Linked DNA regions of Homo sapiens: region 2 is linked to region 1. The links are contacts of gene promoters, found by promoter capture Hi-C in human tissues and cell types (Jung and others, 2019). All regions are on one chromosome and are shown on one strand. Each heading gives the region's core, a stretch centred on a gene start or on the middle of the fragment in contact. The rest is flanking DNA. Distances are from core to core; before and after follow the strand shown.

What was found. The method cuts DNA at HindIII sites, captures the fragments that hold promoters and counts their contacts. A contact is called where the count stands out against the background at its distance.
Region 2: a contact is called between a fragment that was not itself captured here and the fragment with the promoter of DTD1 in region 1, in 1 of the 25 tissues and cell types used here (dorsolateral prefrontal cortex).

The regions. Positions count from the first base shown.
Region 1 is chr20:18,585,781-18,591,163 of GRCh38, forward strand. DTD1 (D-aminoacyl-tRNA deacylase 1) reads left to right here and starts at 2,274. Exons shown (of 6, transcript NM_080820.6): 1 at 2,274-2,335. The coding sequence starts at 2,293. It overlaps LOC124904878 (a long non-coding RNA gene), which reads right to left and starts at 1,685. Exons shown (of 3, transcript XR_007067547.1): 1 at 1,645-1,685. RefSeq lists a silencer at 2,101-2,640 and enhancers at 2,411-2,910, 2,751-2,810. The HindIII fragment of the contact is 3,504 bases long and covers 1-3,469 here.
Region 2 is chr20:19,587,730-19,593,112 of GRCh38, forward strand. The region is part of intron 6 of SLC24A3 (solute carrier family 24 member 3); the gene reads left to right. Among named protein-coding and RNA genes, the nearest start is that of RIN2, 170 kb to the right of the region's middle. The HindIII fragment of the contact is 4,304 bases long and covers 680-4,983 here.

The DNA.
Region 1 (5,383 bases), core at 1,024-3,523:
GTATTTTTAGTAGAGATGGGGTTTCACCATGTTGGCCAGGCTGGTCTTGAACTCCTGACCTCAAGTGATCCACCTGCCTCAGCCTCCCAAAGTGCTGGAATTACAGGCGTGAACCACCACGACCAGCCCAATTTTCCCTTTTTTAGTCTTATTCTTTCAGGAGTGCACAATGGAGTTTTCCAGGGGCTCCGTGACATATAGTGACTTCATTGCTCTGATATTCATATGTAGGGGATTTATTATTGCTATTTTTAAATGCATTGATAAATCCATGTTAACTATTTCTCTTAGTTAAAAACAGTAAACATTTTTAGATATAATCCACCTAAACAAAAGCTATACTTTGTGCCCAATAATTTTTAAGAATGTAAAGGGATCCTGTGATCAAAATATTGAGACCTGCTGATTTTTCAAAAACTCAAATTTTACCAGTTGTTCCAATAATAAGCTTTTCCTTTTCTTGATTTTTCTGGCCAGGATACCACCCAGGTTAATTTAGTTTTCCTGTCTTTTTTTTTTTTTTTTTTTTTTTTGAGACAGAGTCTTGCTTTGTCACCCAGGCTGGAGTGCAGTGGCACGATATCGGCTCACCGTAACCTCCGCCTCCCGGGTTCAAGCAATTTTCTTGCCTCAGCCTCCCGAGTAGCTGGGATTACAGGCATGCGCTGCCATGCCTGGCTAATTTTTGTATTTTTAGTAGAGACGGGGTTTCACCATGTTGGCCAGGCAGGCCTCGAACTCCTGACCTCCAATGATCCGCCCACCTTGACCTCCCAAAGTGCTGGGATTACAGGTAGTTTTCCTGTCTTTTAAAAAGTCCACGGCTGGGCGCAGTGGCTCATGCCTGTAATCCCAGCACTTTGGGAGGCCAAAGCGGGCAGATCACCTGAGGTCGGGAGTTCGAGACCAGCCTGACCAACATGGAGAAATCTCATCTTTAATAAAAATACAAAATTAGCCGGGCGTGGCGGCGCATGCTTGTAATCCCAGCTACTCAGGAGGTTGAGGCAGAAGAATTGCTTGAACCCAGGAGGCAGAAGTTGTGGATAGCCAAGATCACACCATTGCACTTCAGCCTGGGCCACAAGAGCAAAACTGCATCTCAAAAAAAAAAAAAAAAAAAATCCTCCTTAATTCTCGGAATCCTACCTGGTTATTTTGTAGAATGTTCCTCAATTTATTTTTGTCCTATGTTTCATCATGATTGGATTCAGGTTATACATTATTTGGCAGAAATACCACAAGATTGATGTTGTGTCCTTCCCAGTGCAATATCAGGAGGCACATGATGTCTTGTTACTGGTTATGTTAACTTTGACAACGTTATTAAGGCAATTTAGTATTCAGTATTTAACAAACAAGCACACTAGTTTGTAGTCTTTTCTGGGCAAGTGAGGGTTTCTTCTCAATTTCAGTGCCTTTTCTACGCCCACCAATGCTATTAGTCACCTTTAAGGTGAAGACTGCTGAGATGGAATTATTTTTAGCAATGATAATAATTTGTTGGGGTAATAGTTGTACAGCCCTTTGCTGCCATCTAAGCACTTTTACGTGGTTTGGTTCATTTAAATCTAACAACCCAGTGAGGGGGCCAATTAGTAGCATTTATATTACATGAGAAATTAGAATTCTAGAATCACATACCTATTTATTATCATGACATGGCTAAGTCGAATTAATAGTGAGATAGGTAAATGGCTATTTTAGGCAGCAGATCCTTTTGTATGTGGTATCTGAAAAGCCACTGAGGCAGGAAGACAAGGAAGAAGAATTTGGGAGGATCTGCGTGCAGAGGAGTGGAAGAGGAAAGAGGAATACAATTAGAAATAGGATTCAGGCTGAATTTAAAGGCTTAGTGATGACGGGTTCTTAGGTTCGGGTATGTGGGAGAAAAAAACCAGCATAGAGACTACCTTCGGGGCAGAGTGGGTTCTGGGCACTGGGTAGGGGCTGGGCCCGGGATGGGGGGATCAAAGGGCTCTGGCGGGACCCAGATGTGGATGGGGCAGGGCCGAGCGTGGGGACTGGGCTTTTCAATGACGGGCGGGGTTACGGTTGGGCAGCAGGTGGGCGTGGCAGGCATAGGCGGAGTCAATCTATGAGTGGGTGGGCCTATCGCCAGGCCGAGAGTGGGCGTGGCCGACGTGGGGTGGGTAGCAGCCGACCGAGTCGGACCGGCCAGTTGGGCGCGCTTCCGGGTGTCACCTCCAGAGGGCGCCGGCTGCGGAGCCGCCCTCAGAGTCGCGAGGCCGGACGCAGCGCGGCGCCGCCCCACTCGCCCCAGCCGCCGCCATGAAGGCCGTGGTGCAGCGCGTCACCCGGGCCAGCGTCACAGGTCAGTCGGGCGGGGCCGGGCCCGGGAGGAGCCGCCCCTGACCCCCGCGACCGGCTGTCTTGCGTGGGGGGTCTTCCTGCGCCATCCTTGGGGCCGCTGCGGCCCCTCCGCGAGCCTGGTCCCCTTCGCGAGCTCGGTCCGCGCAGCCGCGAGTCCCCAGGGCCGGCTTCGGGGCAGCGCGGCGGCCGGAGAGCCCCCTGCACGTGCCCGACCGGCCCCGGCGCGCCCCTGGCTTCCGGCTCTCGGCAGAGGGTGCAGGACCAGCGCGCCTCATTCTCAGCACCTTTGTCCTGCGTGCGGGATGGCGGAGCCTCGGAGCATCTCCGTGGTCCGCTCTTCAGGGAGTGTTGATGAACCACGCTTAGAGCATTTCCGGAGCAGGCACTCCTCCCTTTTCACTGCTGTATTTTAAATGTTCAATTTTTGCCCATTTTTACGTATTCCAATTTTTATGGGGCTTGACTCAGGATGAAATGCACAGATGCGGAGAGTTGCTCCTTGGGCTGAGCTTTGACAGTTGCGTGCACGTACGTGACTGGAGCCTAGGCTGGATGAGGGGCGCCCCCTGCCCAGGACGCCCCTCGCCCTCGCCCGCTGAACTCTGCGCGGAGGGGTCGGGATCTAAAGAATTCAAGATGAAAACATTTCTCTTTTTCTTGTGGACCAAGCTACCCGACCCCTGGTCATCACTCAGCACTTTCGTCTCGGTTGGGCATCAGAGGTCCAGATGATTAGTGTAGATAAAGTAGTCGTTTTAAGAAAACCACGGTACGAAAGATATTTTTTAAAAAACATTTAAATGACAAGCTTTATATTGTCTTTAGTCTTTTCTGTCTTTATTGGCACAACTATATTGTTTCAGTTCAAATAATTTCAGATATCCTGTCCTTGGAGCCAGTCTGCACCAAATATGCGTTCTTGTGTCCACAAAAGTATGAATTAAAAACAAAACAGGCCGGGGGCTGTGGCTCACACCTGTAATCCCAGCTCTTTGGGAGGCCAAGGCGGGCAGATCACCTGAGGCCAGGAGTTCGAGACCAGCCTGGCCAACATAGAGAAACCCTATCTCTACTACAAATACAAAAATTAGCCGGGAGCGGTGGTTGGTGCCTATAATCCCAGCTACTCGGGAGGCTGAGGTAGGAGAATCGCTTGAACCCGGGAGGCAGAGGTTGCAGTGAGCCGAGATTGTGCCAGTAACCTCCAGCCTGGGCGACAGAGCGAGACTCTGTCTCAAAAAACAACAAACAAACAAAACCCCAAAACAAAAAACAAAACAAAACAAAAACAACAAAAAACCCTAAAGAAACAACCAAACCCACCAAAACCGTATATTTAAATCTAAGAGTCTATTTTTCAACCCCGCCTAATGATTTCTAAGCTGTTCTGGTAGCTTTGGTTTTGGAAATGGTCCTGGAATAATAGGGAATAGAGTAGCACTGGGATTTAGGAATTTTAAAGCTTTTATAACATTTCTGTAGATATTTAAATTCATGAAAACTGGGAAAATTCATAGATGAAAGATGTTTTGCATTATTGAGAAGAACCTTGCAGTCTGCTGCTGTGTGTGGTCGTCACTGACAGATTTAAATTTTGATCTCTCTCCTGAACTCTCCATCCTGCTAATCTGGAATATTGAAAATGTGTATTCTGTGAGATGTGCTGAATAAGAGTTTGGGTTATTTTGGTTCACTATTTAAGTTATATGCTTTCAGTTAAAACAACCAAACCTGCATATTAAAAAAGATAAGGGTGTTAATTATGGGAAAGTGTAAATAATTCGGGAATTCTGGGTTGGGGAACTGTGGAATTCTGTTAGAAGGGCCCTCCACTTATGCAGGCCTTCTAGTTGCATTGTAATGGAAAGGGATTTTCTGATTCCTTTAAAATGTGGCTGGTTTCACTGAAATGTGGCTGTGTTTGAATGGCATTTTATTTTAGGGGTTCTAAAATGTTAACTTCCTGTTTTATGGTCAGGACAGCATAGATTATCAGGAGTCACACATTTTATTTTATTTTAAAATAGTTGGTTGACTTCACATTTATTTTAAATTTATGCATTTATGGTTTGTTTGTTTTAGAGATGGGGTCTTGCTCTGTCACCCAGGCTGGAGTGCAGTGGCACTATTATAGCTTACTACAACCTCAAACGCTTGGGCTCAAGTGATCCTTTAGTTTCAGCATCCTGAGTAGTTAGACTACAGGCGTGTGCCGCCACCGCTATGTCCAGCTTAGGAGTCACACATTTTACTATGTGGTATATTCAATTTATGTGATTGGTCAAACACATTTTTTTTTATAGTAACCCTGTAATATCATTTGATGCCCAGTCCATCAGATTTCTCCAATTGGCTAATTGGTTTTGTTTTTGTTTTGAGAGAGTCTTGCTCTGTTGCCGAGGCTGGAGTACAGTGGTGCCATCTCTGATCACTGCAGCCTCTGCCTCCTGGGTTCAAGCGATTCTCATGCCTCTGTGTCCTGAGTAGCTGGTCTTACAGGTGCGCGCCACTGTGCCTGGCTAATTTTTTTGTATTTTTAGTGGAGACAGGGTTTTGCCATGTTGACTAGGCTGGTCTCAAATTCCTGGCCTCAAGTGATTTGCCTGCCTCGGCTTCCCAAAGTGCTGGGATTACAGGCATGAGCCACTGCACCCAGCTTGATCAAACACATTTTGATGCCTTAGGTTGGGTACTGTGATAATCTAATTTTTAAAAGTTTATTATGGCACATTTCAAACATATTAACAGACGGAATAGGGCAATAACCCCCATGTCCCATCATTCATTGTCAGCAGCTAAAATTTGATGTCTGTGAACAGTGTTGGAAGAGGATCTAAAATGTTTGGGTTTAACTAGGTTAACTTCAAAGGTTATGAATTCTTGAAGTAGAGATCTCAGGTCTGATGCCACTAGTAGGTAGAAAAATTGACCAAACATCTCAGTCTTTTCCAGCCCTTTGATCTTTTGTTCAAAGTGGTGATTCTCAGATTTTTTCCCTTGGTGATCCATTTACTTATAATAAAAAATCCTTTTGAATCTCCTAGTCCTT
Region 2 (5,383 bases), core at 1,582-4,081, 1.0 Mb after region 1:
AAGTTACTTATGTTCTCAAAGCCTCATTTTTCTCATCTATAGAGTGGGTACAAGCACACCTACTTCCTAGTGTTGCCATCAAGATGAATTGTAGCATGTTCAGCATTAATAGACCTGCTCTACATGGTAAGTCAGTCTCAGTTAGACACCATTAGCTATGCTCAGAATACGCATCCCTGGGGTTCTCACCTCCAAATTCCACCTAGGTCACTGTGATAATTTGACCAACTCATTGATGGAACTTATCTAACAGTCAAGGGTGTCCACAGCTTAATTAACAGACACAGGATACTCAGTGGGAAGGAAAGGGATAGTCAGGGAGAAGGTCTTCTAAATGTAAATCAAAGTAAGGAGATGTTCGTAGAAAAACAGTCTCAAAGGACTAGTACTTACTTCTGTGCTGTCTACCAGTGGGAGGTGAAAAAAAAGAAATGACAGCTTCCCAGCCTCAAACAGGGAGAAGCTCTCCCAGGCGGTGGAGTTGGTGCAGTGGAATGTTACGGCAAAGGCTGGATATTGGGAATTGAAGCGATTAATAAATCCAATCATGGATTTCACTTAGCATTTTATTTATGTTGATCTGCACTTTCATTTGGCTGGGAGAATTACCAGCGAGTGCCCGTGGGCCTCCCTCTATGAATTTCAGCATGGAGGGTTGCACATGACCAAGTCTGTTATCCATCTGAAATTAAAGTAATTAAGCTATAAGGTTTGAGTTCCTGTCTCAATTAGGGTTTTGATGAATTCAGTGTAATTAAATGTCTGCTGTATTTGCAGTTTGCAAACATAACCCTCGCTTTGGTGTTCACCTAAGGTGCTTTGGGGAGTTTTATGGGACAAAAAGGAAATTGCTTTTTAGAAAGTGGCTTATAGAGAGGTTCTTGGCATCACTTCAAGACATTTACAAGGCTGTGGTCCTACAAGTTTCCTTTATTTAAAAACGAAGAATAATAACAACAAAGAGAAAACACCGAGCTCTTGATGCAACATACTAATGTATCTTGTACGTTGTATTGAAGGGACTTCATGCCAGTTTTGTAAAACAATGTACTTGTGAATTTCGATCTGCCGTTCAGAGCATGTTAAGATTTAAATGCCTAACCACAAACAGAAATTATGCAGTTTAACTGCATCCCAGGTTAGGACTTTCATATTCAGGTTATTACAGGCCGGCAGATGGCTCTAGTTTATAATAAAGAGCTCCAACATCAGCCCTACTGGCATGCTTAAAATGTGCCTGATGTTCTTTGGCAAGGCCCATCTCATCTTGGCTGGGTTTGCCTTTCTTCAAATAATACTGGCTCGTTTAAACAAACCCTAGCAGCACCCAAAGATTGCACCTCTGAATTGAAATCCACCTGCATTTGGGCTTCCCCAAGAGACTCTAAGCAAGGACTCAAGTGCAAACAGTTGATTTGAAAGGTGATCCCAGGAAGTGCTTGTGGGACAGTGTGGAAGGAAGGCAAGGAAGAGAAAGCAGTGGAGGAAAGTGTGTTAGCAAGCCAGTTATCACTGTGGGTAACAGAGATCTAATTCTTCTGTGGGAACTGGGAGACAGTTTAACTGGAGAGCCACTAAGTTATCTCATGTAAGGAGGCGGGGGAGCTAGAGTATTTCTCCACCAGCTTCCATCATTCATTGGTTAAAGACTGCACTTAAGGGATATTAATTCCCCAGCATTCCAGCTTGCTGGGCTCAGGCGGAGTGGACCTTGGGGCCCAGGGAAAACCCCCAGGCAAAGAGATCTAGGGGACAGCAGTGGAAAGGGCCTGAAATGGTAAAGGTGGGGAAATATGAGTGAGCTCATAGTAAAACATTTGCTATGAACTCAAGACAAAGACTTTAAAACAATACACTTCCTGGGTCTCATCTTCAGCTCCCTTGGATGAAACACAAGCTTTAGTACTAGGCAGACTATAAAGTGTCTAGGGCCAGGACATCTTGCATTTAAAGAATTTTCTCTAATGTTAAAAATACCAGCTACTGTTTATTAAGCTTCTCTAACGTTCAGGCACCACACTAGATTCTGTAAAAATATTTGCGGAAATACACCCACTGAGTTTTAAGATAGTTATCATCCTTCTTTACAGGCAAGGAAATGGATACTGGGGGATTCAGTATTCCCCAGATGGCAAAGAGTCTATTGTCTGGTAGTTAAGACTGAATTTGAGCTCACATCAGTTGGTTATAAATTCCATTCTCCTTCCAAAAGGGGGAATCTACGATTTAAAAACCTCCAGATGTTATCATTGCATTCTTATGATTAGCCTTGGATTTTATGTGTTCTTTGGAAGTTTTGAGTGTAGGATCTGGGGTCAATGCCAAGAAAACAGACACATCAGCAAAATGGTGGTAGCCCCTGCTACAATGGAAGTATTAGATAGGTGCAAAAGTAATTGCGGTTTTTGCCATTGAAAGTAATGGCAAAAACCGCAATTACTTTTGCACCAACCTAATATTTTACTTAGCACAAACAATGTGCAGCTAGAAGTTTCTCTTATACTCAGATGGCATCTCCCACAGCTGGGCTTTTGCTTCCACCACAGATGGAGGACTCAGGCTGATAAACACAGCGGGACACCCACAGGCTGCCCCAGCTTACCCCGTACACCTTGATTTCTATCTTATTGTTCCCCAGACAAAACCCAACACACAGCTCCCCTGTTCCAATCCTGAGATGCATCCAGATTTTCCAAGAAGCTGGGGACAGAGGACAGGGGAGGCCAAAAACCACACACCCATAGTGCTGCCAAACCTAAAAATAGGGGCTGGAGGCCTAACATCCATTCCAGGGAGGGAGATGAAATTGCAAGGAAGAGAGCAAGTGATCTGTTGAGAAACCAAGAGGGCAGGTGTGGCAGAAGGCCTCATCCAGGAGCCAGCGTGCTTCCGTACATGATCCTGTGAGTAGCAGAGAGCAGAATGTGAAGTGCAGGAGTAGACCAAGGCCAAGGTCAGGTCCAGCTGAGGCAGCCAGTGAATTCCATCACACCCAGTAAAACTGGGTTTCTCCCGGCATCTTCTGCAGGCTGTGGCATCAGGAGGCAGATTCCTGTTAGAAGCAGAGCCCCAGCCCTAGCCCAAGGCCAACTGAATCAGAAGAGCAGCTCACCTGCTTCAGCTCCATCTGCAGGCTCAGCTCTCATCACGTTCTAGACCAAGCGTGGCCCTGGATGAGAGGCAGCCTCCAGCAGTTGGTCCAGGAAAGGTAGACAGTCCTGCTGAGGCCCCAGTCTTATGACTGACCATCTGCCTGAGGCTGTCTCTTGCACTGTCCCCTCATAGTTTCTTTTCTCTGGCCATCCCCACCCCAACCCCCTCAAGGCCAGGTCCTGACAGGGCCCCACACCTGATCTCCCCCTGACAGATGCTGTTGGTCCCAGGCCCAGAGTTCTGCTAAGGCCACCCACCTGGCTCTGTGCTGCTCTGTTTTCATTGCCTCTACAACTTCACCCCAGATCTCTGTGTTAGCTTTGATCTGGGCTCACAAAACGTGTGTCTTGCTTGTTCCACTTCTTTGATACGATCTCCTGAAGTCAGATTCATTCTCAGATCCACATCTAGACTAATTAGAAGCTTTCAGTTTCAGGTAACAACAAAAAAAAAATCCCAACTCTAACTGGCTTCTTAAATGAAGGAAATTTATAGATGTCTCTGAAAAATGCAAAGGAAAGTGGACATCAGGTATGACTTGATCAGGACTTCCAGCCCCATTGTTGTGATTCTTTTATCTCTAATCTCCTCTGTTTCCTTCCTCATACTAGTTTTTTTTTTTTAATGGCAGAAAATAGCTGTAGCATTTTCAGGCCTCAGGTACACATACCACTTTGGCCAGGAAAGAGAAAGAGGATGTCTCCTTGGCCACCACATCTCATTCCCCATCCCCCCATAGCATCATCAAACAAAAATCTGATTGAGCCAACTCAGGTTACCTGACCATCCCTGAACCAATCATTGTGGCAAAGGAACTAGTTACTCAATTGGTTTAGGTTAATCAAGAACCACATACCCATTTCTCCCTTCCCTCCAGAGCTAAGAATCTAATCACTTCCACCTCGAATACACAGTTTTCAGTTTATTATAAAAAGCAGAGATAAATGATTACAGGACAAAGCCTGTGCACTATCGTGTGCTGCCTCAATGTCTGCTTTCCCTGGGCTGGTGGAACACAAGGGAAAAACTGCACACAGATGCACTCTAGGTCTTGCTGTGGACATATGCTCTCATTTCTTTCAGGTAAATAACCTAGGAGTGGGATTACTGGGTTGTGTGCTAAGTATGTTTGTAAGAAACCACCAACAGCTTTGCAAAGTGGCTAAACCATTTGTATTTCCACCACCTACATGTGGGATTCCAGGTGCCCCACATCATCACCAGCACTTAGTATTATCAGTACTATTTTGTTTTGTTTTCATTTTAGCCATTCTATTGAGCACGAGTGGCACGTCACTGTGGTTTTAATTTGCATTTCCCTGACGAGCCATAATGTTGGGCATTTTTTAACAGGCTTCTTTGCCATCTTCTTTGGTGAAAAATCTGTTTAAATCATTGCCCATTTGTTAGTCAGGGGTTTTGTCCTCTTCTTATTATATTGTCCAGGCAGTCTCTAAATCATCACACTCGACTAAGCACTCCTCTGAGTCCTTCTGTCCAATTTATTTCCATAGCCAAATCAATAGTGGGTAGAGCCATTAGAAATGATTTAAACTGATCATGGCAATGTTTTATTAGTTCTGTTTCTTGGATTTAGGTTTGCAAGAGAGGTACTCATAATCAGCACGGTGCAATGGGGGAAAGAAAATGAAGCAATCATTTCCCTTTAGTATGGCACACCTGGATGTATCTGAGATGCATCATTCCAGAAATGTGAAGAGAAAAGCAGGAACCTCTCGTGGCCAGGGGTGAGGACTCCTTCCATGTAGTTTTCACATGCTCCTTCAAAGTGAGTAATTTTCATGTTTCTCTTGAAACTCACTTCCAAGGAGCACCATGAAAATTACTGGAAGGAATATTCACCTTCTGAAACTCACTGCCTACATCTTCGGCAAAAATTTTCTTTCTTTCTTTCTTTTTTTTTTTTTTTTGAGATAGAGTCTCACTGCGTTGCCCATGCTGGAGTGCAGTGGCACGATCTTGGCTCACTACAACCTCCACCTCCCAAGTTTAAGCGATTCTCCTGCCTCAGCCTCCCGAGTAGCTGAGATTACAGGTGCCTGCCACCATGCCTGGCTAATTTTTGTATTTTTAGTAGGGACAGGGTTTCGCCATGTTAGTCAGGCTGGTCTCCAACTCCTGACCTCAGATGATCCGCCTGCCTCAGCCTCCCCAAGTGCTGGACTTATAGGCGTGAGCCACCGCACATGGCTGGCAAAGACTTTCAATG